Linked DNA regions of Homo sapiens: all the other regions are linked to region 2. The links are contacts of gene promoters, found by promoter capture Hi-C in blood cells and fetal thymus (Javierre and others, 2016). All regions are on one chromosome and are shown on one strand. Each heading gives the region's core, a stretch centred on a gene start or on the middle of the fragment in contact. The rest is flanking DNA. Distances are from core to core; before and after follow the strand shown.

Region 1 (4,244 bases), core at 1,299-3,798, 240 kb before region 2:
CATATTGTTTTTGCTTTAAATTCTGTTTATGTGGTGAATCACATTTATTGATTTGTACTTGTTGAACCAATTATTGCATCTCAGGGATGAAGCCTACTTGATCATCGTTTATTAACATTTTGATGTGCCGCTGCATTTGGTTTCCTGGTATTTTGTTGAGGATTTTTGTGTCTATGTTCATCAGGGATATTAGCCAGAAGTTTTTTTTTTTCATTGTGACTCTTCCAGATTTTGGCATTAGGCTGATGCTGGCTTCATAGAATGAGTTAGAGAGGAGTCCCTCCTCTTGGATTTTCTTGGAATAGTTTCAGTAGAATTGGTCTCAGTTCTTCTTTGTACATGTGGTAGAATTTGGCTGTGAATTAATCTGATCCAGGACTTTTTTTGATTGGTAGGGTTTTTTTGTTGTTGTTGTAACTGATTCAATTTCAGAGTTCCATATTAGTCTCTTCAGGATTTCAATCTCTTCCTGATTCAATCTTAGGAGATTATTTCCAGGAATTTATTTATTTTCTCCAGATTTTCTAATTTGTGCACATAGAGTTATTCATAATATTATCTGAGGATCTTTTATATTTCTGTGGGATCAGGTGTAACATCATTTTTGTCATTTCTGATTGTGCTTATTTGGATCTTCTTTGATTTTGTTAATCTAGTTAGGGGCCTATTGATCTGGTTTATTTTTACTAATAACCAACTTGTAGTTTTATTGATCATTTGTATGGATTTTTGCAACTCAGTGTCAAATTCTTCTCTAATTTTAGTTTTCTTTTGCTAGCTTTGGGGTTGGTTTGTTCTCTTTTTCTAGTTCCTTTAGGTGCAAACTTACATTGTTAATTTGAGATCTTTCTAACTTCTTGATGAAGGCATTTCATGCTCTAAACTTTCCTCTTAACACTGCTTTAGCTGCATCCCAGAGATTTTGGTAAGTTGCATCCCTATTTTCAATAATTTCAAAGAATTTTTTGATTTATGCCTTAAATTTGATATTCACCCAGGAGTTATTCAGGAGTAAGTTGTTTAATTTCCATGTATTTATGCAGTTTTGAGAGATGTTCTTGATAATATTTTTATGTTTATTGCACTGTGTTCCGAGAGTGTGCTTGGTATGATTTCAACTTTACAAAAAAAATTTTAACACTTGCTTTATGACTGAGCGTGTAGTTAATCTTAGAATATGTTCTGTGTGGTCAGGTGTGGTGGCTCATACCTGTAATCCCAGCACTTTGGGAGACCAAGGCAGGCAGATCTTTTGAGGTCAGGAGTTTGAGACCAGCCTGGCCAGTGTGGTGAAACCCGGTCTCTAGTAAAAATACAAACAACAACAACAACAAACAAACAAACAAACAAACAAAAAAACAAAATTAGCCAGCCGTGATGATGGGTGTCATAATCCCAGAGATACTCAGGAGGCTGAGGCAGAAGAATCACTTGAACCTGGGAAGCGGAGGTTGCAGTGAGCCAAGATCGCACCATTGCACTCCAGCCTGGACGACAACAGCGGAACTCTGTGTGCAGGTGAGAAGAGTATTTGTTCTGCCATTGTTTGGTGGAGTGTTCTATAGATGTCTATTAGGTCTAACTGGCCAAGAGTCAAGTTTAAGTCTAGAGTTTCTTCGTTTGTTTTCTGCCTCAATGATCTGTCTAATGCTGTCAGTGGAATGTTGAAGACTCCCACTCTTATTGTGTGGTTATCTAAGTCTTTTTGTAGTCCAAGAAGAATTGTTTCATGAATTGGGGTGCTCCAATGTTGGGTGTGTATATATTTAGGATAGTTAATTTTTCTTGTTGAAGTGTACATTTTAGCATAACGTAATACCCTTCTTTGTCCTTCTTAATAGAAATCGGTTTAACATCTATTTTATCTGACATAAAAATAGTGACTGGTTCTTTTTAGTTTTCCATTTGCATGGTAGATATTTCTCCATCCCTTTACTTTGAACCTGTGGGTGTCATTACATGTGAGATGAGTCTCTTGAAGACAGCAGATGGTTGGGTCTTGTCTTTTTATCTGGCTTGCCACTCTATATCTTTTAAGTGGAGGCATTTAGCCCATTTACATTCAGGGTTAGAATAGGTATATGAGATTTTGAGCCTGTGACTGTGTTGCTAGCTTGTTGTTATGTAGACTTGGTTGTGTAGTTGCTTTATAGTACCTGCGGGCTATATTCTTAGTGTGTTTTTGTGGTAACAAGTATCACTCTTTTGATTCCATGTTTAGCACTCCCTTAATGACCTCTTGTAAGGCTGGTTTAGTTGAAACAATGTCCCTCAGCATTTGCTTATCTGAGAAGGATTTTATTTCTACTTCACTTATGAAGCTTAGTTTGAAGGAATATGAATTCTTGGTTGAAATTTCTTTCCTTTAAGGACACTAAAAATAGACCCCCAATATCTTCTGAGGTGTAAGATTTCTGCTGATAGGTCTGCTGCTAGCCTGATGGGGTTCTCTCTGTATGTGACTTGACCCTTCTCTCTAGCTGCCTTTAAGATTTTTTCTTTTGGGTTGATGTTCGTGAATCTGATGACTATGTTCCTTGAGGATGGTCATGTTGTATAGCATCTAGCGAGTTCTCTGTATTTCCCGAATTTGCATGTTAACCTCTCTAGTGAGATTAGAGAAACTTTCATGGACTATATCCCCACATATATTTTGCAAGGTTGCTTATTCTCTTTTTTTCTCTCAGGAATGCCAATGAATTGCAGATTTGGTCTCTTTACATACTTCTTGGAAGTTTTGTTCATTGAAGATTTTAATTAGGAAACAAAGCTTAGCAGGAGAGGAGAGCCAGAGAAGTGACAGGGAAGCTACAGGTTACGACAGATTTGTGAACTCAGCCAAGCACAGTGGTGGCAGGGCCTAGCTGCTACAAAGAAGACATGTTTTAGACAAATACTCATGTGTATGGGCAAAAAACTCAAGGACTGTATTTGTGACTAATTGTATAACAGGTTATTTTAGTTTCTGTTCTGTGGAAAGTGTAAAGCATTCCAACAAAGGGTTTTAATGTAGATTTTTTTTTTGCACCCATGCTGTTGATTGCTAAATGTAATAGTCTGATCGTGATGCTGAATAAATGTCTTTTTTTTTAATGTGCTGTGTAAAGTTAGTCTACTCTGAAGCCATCTTGGTAAATTTCCCCAACAGTGTGAAGTTAGAATTCCTTCAGGGTGATGCCAGGTTCTATTTGGAATTTATATACAACCTGCTTGGGTGGAGAAGCCATTGTCTTTGGAAACCTTGGTGTAGTTGAACTGATAGTTACTGTTGTGACCTGAAGTTCACCATTAAAAGGGATTACCCAAGCAAAATCATGGAATGGTTATAAAAGTGATTGTTGGCACATCCTATGCAATATATCTAAATTGAATAATGGTACCAGATAAAATTATAGATGGGAATGAAGCTTGTGTATCATCCATTATCACGTGTAATCAATAAACGATTTAATTCTCTTGAAAATAAAATTTTTTTAACTTTCGTCTGACTGTGTCGATGTGAAGTACTGGCCTTTGAGCTCTGAGATTCTTTCCTCATCTTGGTCTATTCTGTTGATAATACTTTTAATTATATTATAGAATTATTGTAGTGAATTTTTTAGCTCTGGAAGTTCAGTTTGGTTCTTTGTTAAAACGGCTATTTTGTCTTTCAGGTCTTGGATTGTTTTACTGGATTCCTTGGGTTAGGTTTCAACTTTCTCCTAAATCTTGATGAGCTTTCTTGCCATCTGCATTCTGAGTTCTATGCCTGTCATTTCAGTCTGGTTAAGAGCCATTCCTGGAAATCTAGTGGACTCATTTGGAGGTAAGGGGACACTCTGGCTTTTTGAGTTGCCAGAGTTCTTGCACCGATTCTTTCTCATCTGGGAGGGTTTGTGTTCATTTTACTGTGGTGTAAGTTGAGTATTGTCAGTTGGCTTCTGGGTGTTTTCAGAAGGTCAAGGTTCTGTTCAGGGTCTTTATTTGTGGCTAAATTCTTGCCCTTGGTTTCACAGGATGGCATAATATCAAAATATTTTTGATGTTATAGTTTAGGCTATGATCCACTAGATCTTAAAAGATACAGAGTGGCTTAAGGGTAATGGGCAGTAGATAGGCTCTTAGCAGCATGGCTTCTCTGTATTTCCTTTCATTTGCAGCCATACTCTGCATTGCAGTGGAGGAGAAAGGTAACCCCCTTACCAGGTACACTCCTGGACCTTGGAGGAAGCCCCTCCTATCACTGGTGCTGTGCCTGTGTTTCT
Region 2 (4,705 bases), core at 1,617-4,116:
TGATAGATCCCAAATAAAACAAAATGAAGTATGTGATAAGTACTGTGTTAGAATGTTGAAAGGAGCCAGGAGATCTTCTGACAACGGTCCTAGCCTTGTTGGAAGTAGTTAGGAAAGGGGAAATGGAGGACATAACAATAATAATAATATAATAGAATAATGGCTAGTGCTTATTGAGTACTTACCATGTGCTAGGTAAGCACCTAAGATTACCTCTCTTTTAACCCTGAGATAGGAAATTTCCCAGTTTGCAGATGAAGAAACTGAGAAGTCACTTGCCTAACATCATCACTAGGCCAGCTGGTTGGTTCATGCACTCTTTGATTTGAAGCCAAGCGGTCTAAGTCCAGAGTTATCTTCTTAAGCCCCCACTGCATTGCCTCTGGACAACACAGACTTCCATTTGTCAGAGGTGTTCAAACCAGGCACCTCCATCTTGAGTGGGGGGCTGGGTAAGATGAGGCTGAGACCTGCTGTGCTTCATTCCCAGGAGGGCAGGCATGCATTCTTAGTCACAGAATGAGACAGGAGGTTGGTAGGACTGATTTCACCATATACAGTTCGGGTCACAAAGACCCCTATGATAAAACAGGATGCAGTAAAGAAGCTGGAGAAAGCCCACCCAAACCAAGACTGCAATGAAAGTGACCTCTAGTCGTCCTCACTGCTCATTATATGCTAATTATAATGTATTAGCATGTTAAATACATTAGACACTCCCACCAGCGCTGTGACAGTTTATAAATGCCATAGCAACATTGAGAAGTTACCCTATATGGTCTAAAAGGGAGAGAAACCCTCGGTTCCAGGAACTCCCCACCCTTTTTCTGGAAAACTCTTAAATAATCCACCCCTTGTTTAGCATATAATCAAGAAATAACCATATGTATACTCAGTCCAGCAGCCCATTCCCTGCTCTGTCTATGGAATAATCACCCTTTTATTCCTTTACCTTCTTAATAAATTTGTTTTCACTTTACTCTGTTGGCTCGCTCTTGAATTCCTTCCTGTGCAAGCCAAGAACCCATGTGGCCCCCAGGCTGAACCCCAATTTAGGGGTTCATCCTGTGACCCATTGGCTGGAAAAGGTGTAGGAAACCAAGTAGCTTTGTCATTGTCCCAAAGCTCCACTCTCACCCCCACCCAACAGCCACATCATTATGCCAGCCAGCTCCAGATCCTTGAAAAAAGTAGCCCTCTAAAAATGTATGGAGGTTTCCCAACCCATCTATCCAGAGGGGGCTGAGACCTAGCTGTTTGGAAGGGTGAGAGTTGGGAGAGGGTAGTTGTCACCTCCTGAAGGAGTTCCTAGGGTGACCAGAGGGCATGGGCGTCTTCTCCCGGACAGGTTGAGGGGGAGGCTGGAGGGCAGGGTGGCTGAAGCAACAAGGGAGCAGATATCCCCTGGACTGGAAAGGACATCTTGATGGGTCCCTGGCCTGCCTCTCTCCTCAGGCCCTACTTACGCAACACTGCGGCCAGGCTCAGTGCCCCTCCAGCCAGGCGCGCGCACGCTCACAAGACAACATCTGAACCGCGGTTTGGGAGCCCAGCCAGGAAGGAGGGCTCTCTGGCCGCTCTCCGACCCGAGCGGAGCGCAGTCCGCCCCCGCCCCACGCGCCGGGCCCTCCAGCGCCTGCCCCACTCCTCCTCCCTCCTGCCGGGCCAGCTCTCTCCTTCTTTTCTCCGACCCTTTGGAGAAGTTCGAGGAAACTTTCCGAGGCCCAGCCCTTGACCAATTTGTCCATTAAGCCAGGAGAAAAAAGATGCGCTCTCTGCTTCCCTCCTGCCCCAATCACTTCCCAAATGGCCCCCTCGAGCTGTTTGTTTAAAGGTCCCTCTCCGGATCTGTGCCGAAGGTTCCTAGAAATTTGCCAAGCCCCGCTTTGACCAAGCTCCCTCCCATCCTTATGCGCGCATAAGTTTACCCAAATTGTGTGCCAGAGCACCGTTCCCAAAGTCCTACATTAGCAAAAACGACCCCTGTAGCTGTTTGCCAAAGGCTTACCTAGACGCTTGGCAAGAGCCCTTAGCAACTGCCCAGATGTGTCCAAAAGTTGTTTACAAAGACCGCCCCCCCCCCCCGCCAAATGTCCCAGATACTAGAGGATGTCCCCGCTATTTACATAAGAGTCCCTTTCCAGTAGTTTGCCAGGTCACCCCTCTCCCACTCTCTGGCTTGTTTTTCGCCCCACTGCTGTATGCTGAAGGTTGCCAAATTGTTTATCAAAGGTTTTCTTTGCTTACAAAAGATCCCCCACCGTTTGCAAGAGATCACTCCAATAGCTTGCCAAAGACCCCCCAAGCTGTTTACCGAAGCCCCTCCCCCACGCTGTGTGCCCACCGCCGAGGGCAGGGGGAGAGACACCCCCATCCTTTGCCTCCGAAGTTTGTCTAAACGTGGTTCCTTGAGGCCAGCGCAGCAACTCACCACTGCCAACTCTTTGTCCGTTTTGGGGGCGACATCGCCGGGGAACTTGATGATGGGCGACGGCGCGGCGGCGGCGTGGCTCAGCAGGCAGCCCAGGAGACAGAGCGCCCTCAGGGGACCCGTGAGCGCGCCCCGGGCCATTAGCGCCTCCATCGTAGCGCTCCCTGGCCCCGCGCGTCGCCCGGGGGTCGCTGGCTCGGTGCGTGTGGCCGCCTCGCCGCCTGGTTGGAGCCTGCTCCGCGGCGCAGGGCTGCGCTCCGAGGGTCCGCTGGCTCGGTGGCCTGGGGTTTGCCCGGCTCAGCGGCTCATGGTCCGGCCCCCGCGCCCCAGCCCCCGCCGCCGCCGCCGCCGCCGCAGGTCCTGGCAATCCCTTTGTATGTTTAAAGCCCCAGATGCGCAGCCTCCAGCCACCGCCTGAGGAAGTCTGGATGCAGCGGAAACAAGGGAGGGCAGCCGCCAGATGTAGCCGGCTGGGCTGGGAGGGAGCTGGCAGAGCGGGGCTGGGGGCGGGGGGCGCACTCGGGCCCGCCCCTCTCTGCCCCACCCCCCTACTCGCCCTCCTCCACTTTTCTCCTCTTTTTTCCTTTCTCCACCTCTTTTCCCCGGCCGCCTGCTACTCCTGGCCTCTACGTCCACCCTCAGTGCACGACCTCGTCACCCCACTTGCCTCTCTCGCGATCTGGGCGCACAGCCTCAGAACCCCCTGCTGGGAAACATCTGTCGCTCTAGGCCCTTGACGTCCTGAGGTTAGAGAGCAGCGGTACTACTAGGAGGGACGCCGGCTTGGCTAGGACACCCTGCACTCCCTGGGGTCAGGAACGGGAAGGAATGGTCAGAAACAGATGATCAGCCACAATGATAGATGGTCAGAGACAGAAATTTTCGATATTTAGGGATAGGGACAGAGAGATTCTGGGATGAACAGAGATGGAAAGAGAGAGATGGAAACAGAGACAGTGGAAGGTCCCAGGTTGCTTCCTTACCTCTTTCCTTCTGCAAATGTGTAAGCCTTAACTTGGCCTCGTATAGTGCGAGATGCTAGATACACCTTGGGAAATAGAGCAGTCAGGGGCCCCGCGTTAGAGACGTTGGAACCAGAGCGACTCCATCTTGAACAGGGGGCTGGGTAAAATGAGGCTGAGACCTGCTGGGCTGCACTCCCAGGAGGGTCCGCATTCTCGGTCACAGGATGAGATAGAAATTGGGCAAGACTGGTTTAATAAGATAGAGGTCACAAAGACCCCACTGATAAAACAGTATGCAGTGAAGAAGCCAGCCAAAACCAAGATGGCAAAGAAAGCGACCTCTGGTCATCCTCACTGCTCATTTTACGCTAATTATAATGCATTAGCATGTTAAAGGAAGCACCCACCAGTGCCATGGCAGTTTATAAATGCCATGGCAATGTGGGGAGGTTTACCCTATATGGTCTAAAAAGGGGAGGAGCCCTCAGTTCCACGAATTCCCCACTCACTCTTGAATCCTTTCCTGCGCCAAGCCAAGAATCCATGTGGCCTCTCAGGTCGAATCCCAATTTTGAAGTTCTCCCTGTGACAACCGTCTCTGAGGAATGTCTTCTCCCTCTCTCAGGAAAGACAGTTGAGAGATAAGCTGTGATGGGGAACTCCAGCAGGCTGTTGGGAACGCCTGACTTCAGCCCCTAAACTAGTAAAGACAATCAAGGAAGGCTTCCTGGAAGAAGTGACTTCTGAGCTGAGACCTGAAGAGCTAAAGAGGTGGAGTGCTGGGTGGGGAATATGGGGAATGTTTTAGGGAACATTGACAATGGCCCAGAGATGAAAAACAGCAAGAGGCACTGGAGAAGAAAGTTTTTTCTATCTGAAAAAGGTGGGGCACAGGGTGAGGGGATGGAGCTGGAGGGGTCAGTAAGGACCAGCCTAGGAAGGGGGCAGATAGGACTGGGGGTCAGCAGGGAACAGTTTGAGAAGTAAGGTCAGGGGCTGAAAGAATCAGGAGCAATATACTTGTGGGGGGCATTGGAGGTCACGATTATGTCTTGATCATCACAGCTAGAAAAGTCTCTGCGGCTTGGGTCTCAGTGGGCTTCAGACAAGTTCAGGCTTGTCTGGTGGGTGTGTGCTCTGACTTTCCAGAGTCAGTTTTAAAGGACCCTCTTGGGAGGGACCTTGCCCCGCAGGAGGGAGCCAGGCCCTTCAGCCTGACCCAGTGACAAACCTTGGCTGTTTTGGAGAGGGCGAGACTGAGGTCAGTTGGGAAGGGGGATTGCCTCCTGGCCCAGCCCCACTGGGCTCA
Region 3 (4,291 bases), core at 785-3,284, 160 kb before region 2:
GCTCCGACACGTGGTCCCAGGGTCTTCCCACACCTACGTCCTCTCTTTGGAACATTTCTCAGAGCAGATAGTTGAACATTGCCCTGGCATCACTCTGAAGGAAGGAGGTGCACGAAAGATAGGTTTTGATGAGGAGGCTGGGAAGACTTGGGGGTCCAGGTTGGGGCAGCAGTGAGGGGAGGATCCAGGCTGGGAAGGATCCTTGGTGATAACAAAGGTGGGGAGAGGTCATCATGAGGCCACCCTGCCTGTTCCAAGGGCCACAGGAATCCTCACTGAGCCCTCCAGCACACGCAGTTCTCTTGTAAGGGGACTGGCAGCTGGTCTACACTGCCCACGTGTGGATGTGGGCCATGAAGCTAAAGCTGAAGTGCATGTCCTGGGGAGAGTCAGGTCAGGCAGTTGGTGGAGAGACTTAGGCCTTAGGAGAAGACTGAGGGACAGACCTGCTGGCCTCAGGAGTGGACATGCAGTCACCAGGGGGTGCTGCACATATATTCCGTGTGGCCCAAGAGCAGGCCCAGAGCCACAAACACGCACTTCAAGGAGTCAGGCTCCAGCTCAGTGTAGCCCAGGAGGCAGGTGGAACGGCTGTGTCTGGGAAGGCTGGGGGCTGCCCTCCAAGGAGTGTGTGCCTGCCCACCCCTGCCTCTGGCTCAGGCTTTGTGAGAACCAGTCCGGGGAGCTGGAGAAAGGAATGGGGCTTTGTTTCAAAATTTTCCAATTTTGCTAATAGCGTCTCTCCCATTTTTTTCTCCCTATCCTCCAGCCCACCTGTAACAAGACCTTTCGCCATGCCCGCATCCCTTAGAAGCTAGGATAGTTGGAGCTTGGAGGGACCTTGCAGATCTCTCCTGAAGTAGAGAAGTACAGCCCCAAGGAAAAGGGGCAATGGCTCAGGGCTATGCAGGCCCTGATTTGAATTACTTTGAATCACAGAGGGAGAAAGTTCCACTGCTTTTCATGCTTTTTTAGCCCTGATTACGGAAGGAGTGAGTCTCAATCTGGTGTTCATGTGTCTGTAATGACTCTAACTTACTAATCCCCAGTTCAACAGAAGGAAGCCAGGCTTTGGGTCAGAACTTTCAGGCCCAAACCGCATGAAACTAGAATCTCCTATCAGTGCTTTCTTTTCGTTGCTTTATTTTTAGTTATCTATTTATGGCATGTGATTTTGGTTTTTTATTTATTACATGATGACAGTATAAAATTTCTTTCATTATTTCTTACTGTTAACTTAAAAAATGTGGATAATTCCCAAGCATGTATCTACACTGTCACTATAGAGTATTTCTGCTCTCACTAGATACCTGCTCTCTAGTGTTCATAGGTGCCAGATAGTGAAAGCTTAGATACACATTTGGGAATAATCCTCACTAAATACATACATAATACATACCTAATAGCACATATTAAATGTATGGTATACATACATATAATGCATAATTATATAACAATATGTATTTATTATTAAATATAAATATATATTATTAAGAATAATCAATATACATACTATATACACACATGCACACATACTCAATATATACATATACTGCATATGTACCTATGTATACACGATATGTATATATTATTACTTAAAATTACACACGTACATTTACATATACCTAAAATGTTGCGTATATTCCTAAAATTTTATACATATAAACTATATATGAAAACATATATATAAATTTTTATATATAAAACATATATATATTTGTATGAGGCTTAACACACAGAAAATTGAAGTAATTATAACTGCACTTTTTACATAGTAAAAACGCTCATGAAACTACATCCAGGCCATTAAAAAAATGACCAGAATCTGAGGAGTCCCCCTGGTTGCCCCTCCCTGTCAACATCTCCCTCCTCCCCAAAGGTAACTGCTATCTGGACCTTGAACCCCCTAGATTTATTTTGCCTGTCTAAACCATTTTTACGCATCACTTTTGTGCATGTTTAAAGTTTATACAGTTGGCCTTATTCCGCATGAATCCTCCTGCAAATATTCTTGAGGTTTTTCCATGTTGATACTTGAGCTTCCTTTTTAAAACAAATGTGTTTAATTAAGAAGAATGAGTTGATTTAAAGGAAAACATCAAATGCATACTAGGACAAGTTGATCAGGGAGTGCCAGAATTCAGGAAACATTGGCTTTAAGCCCAGTATCTTCCCCTTTTACAGGTGTGCACACCAAGGTCAAGGGCCATAACAGCTGTACTGCAGGTCAGTCTGCATGTTCACGGCACAACTGGGATGAGGTTCCAGCCCAAGTTCCTGAGGTCGGAGATCTTTCCTACTACGTCATGTTGGCAAGAACATTCCCCTCTGCCTTACCCTACCCCACAGCTCTATTTCCTAGCCAACGTCGGTTCTTAACCTTGAACTGCAGAAAGTAAGCTGTTTTTGTTGTGTTTTATTGATCATTTTAGAATTAAGCCTAGAGTCAGGGTGGTGTGTTATTGGGGGACCAAGTCCCACCAAGGCAGCTGTCCAACCTTCAAAGTTATGACAAGCCTTCCACTTGGCAGCCCACCTCAGTGACCTATATTTTAATATGTGCTATTAGATTATTGCTAATGAGACATCTTAGGGATAAAAGAATTATGCTCGCTGCTGGGCTATGGTAAAAGTACAATTGAATTAAAGGCTGAAATCGTTTAGGACTCTGCTAGACAACCTGTCCCCCAGGCTGGGCCCGAATGGAGATATTAAGCTTTGGAAATTACACAGGAAAAATAAGTATAATTGATCTAGGGTAACTTCACTCATCTAAATTAAATAATGTGATTGTTACAGGCAGAAAGGCTCAGGATGAGAAGCCGGGCGGAAAAGGCTTGCTATCTGCAAACAAAGTTATAAGTGAAAGCCCCAGGGAATTGACTTTCCCCTGATGAGCCGAGCACCCTCCTGATGGCTTCTGAGAGTCCACTTGGTCATCAGCAGGAAATGGACCTGGTCTGAATGTTATAGAATCTGAGGTTTGCCAGGCGCCTCTGACCACCATCCTCACCAGCCCCTTCCCAATGCCTTAGCCAGCTCATGCCCCACCCGGCAAATTGTCCAGTGCTGTGTGCACAACTCTCTTGCTTAGAAGAGATTTCTCTATCCCAGCACTTTGGGAGACCATGGTGAGTGGATCATCTGAGGTCAGGAGTTCGAGACCAGCCTGGCCAACATGGTGAAACCCCATCTCTACTAAAAATACAAAAAAATTAGCCAGGCATGGTGGCGGGTGCCTGTAATCCCAGCTACTTGGGAGGCTGAGACAGGAGAATCGCTTGAACCCAGGAGGAAGAGGTTGCAGTGAGCCAAGACCATGCCTTTGCACCCCAGCCTGGGCAACAAAAATGAAACTCTGTCTCAAAACAAAACAAAACAAACAAACAAACAAACAAGAAGAGATTTCTCTGCTGGTGGCTGTAGCTGCTTTTATTTCCATCCATAGGAGTCTTGTGGTCTGCAATGCCTAAGGTCCATGCAACCTCATCTCCCTGGAGCCAGCCTCCAGAACCCCATGCCATCATCTATAAATTGCACAACTGTGTGCGGAGTGCCACTTACAGACCAGTCTTTAAATGAAGATATTGCATTTGCAGAACTTCGGAGCTCCGTCTCCAAGGTGCTCACTTTCTCTGGCCCAAACATTTACACTCCACCAACCCTCTCATTGATTCCAGGTTCCTTGGGGGCAATGCTAGTCCTGATGCTATTCATTGAAAGGCAGATGCTGGAGTCTCCCAAGCAGGAAGAGGTCCTGCAAACCTATAAGGGCTAAGATTTCCCAGGTCCTCCACTGATTCCCTTCTGCCCCAACTGGTGGCTCCCTTTGCCTTCCCTAGCATCTGTCTGTCCCACCCCTAGGCAACACAGCTGGCTGCTTGCAAGGTGAGACTTGAGGAGTCCCCAGCTATTCTTACCTTGTCCCAAACATTGTTGTTCTTAGGCCATAAAGTCCATGGTTAAGTCTCTTGTTTTAAGTATCACCCTTCTCTGGCTAAAAACCAACTAGAATATGTTAAAAAAAAAAAAGAGAGAGAGAGAGAGAGAGAGAGATTTCCTCTCTCCCTCCAATCTTTCTTTTTCTCTCCTTCCCTTCCTCCCTCCTTCCTATCTTCTTTCTTCCCTCCTTCTCTCCCTTCCTTCCTTCCCTCTCAAAAGCATTTCTTGAGTCATCCCTATGTATCAGGAACAATTCTATGAGCCAGGGCTATAGTGGTAAATAATACAGATGAGATTCCTGCTTAAAGTCAAGCCAGGAGAAAAGTCTAGAAACAAATAAACAAGGAAA

What was found. Contacts are between HindIII fragments. The CHiCAGO score rates a contact against its expected background, and 5 or more counts as called.
Region 1: a fragment that was not itself captured here is called in contact with the fragment with the promoter of MMP2 in region 2 in 6 of 17 cell types (M2 macrophages, fetal thymus, M0 macrophages and 3 more); the score reaches 7.1 in M2 macrophages.
Region 3: a fragment that was not itself captured here is called in contact with the fragment with the promoter of MMP2 in region 2 in 4 of 17 cell types (monocytes, M1 macrophages, M2 macrophages and 1 more); the score reaches 6.4 in monocytes.

Annotation. Positions count from the first base shown.
Region 1 is chr16:55,718,959-55,723,202 of GRCh38, reverse strand. It overlaps LOC105371280 (a long non-coding RNA gene), which reads left to right and starts at 1,367. Exons shown (of 3, transcript XR_933605.1): 1 at 1,367-1,518. The HindIII fragment of the contact is 449 bases long and covers 2,324-2,772 here.
Region 2 is chr16:55,477,359-55,482,063 of GRCh38, reverse strand. It overlaps MMP2 (matrix metallopeptidase 2), which reads right to left and starts at 2,866. Exons shown (of 13, transcript NM_004530.6): 1 at 2,432-2,866. The coding sequence starts at 2,584. The HindIII fragment of the contact is 12,132 bases long and covers 1-4,705 here.
Region 3 is chr16:55,639,584-55,643,874 of GRCh38, reverse strand. No RefSeq gene overlaps it. Among named protein-coding and RNA genes, the nearest start is that of SLC6A2, 14 kb to the left of the region's middle. RefSeq lists a silencer at 304-598. The HindIII fragment of the contact is 1,369 bases long and covers 1,350-2,718 here.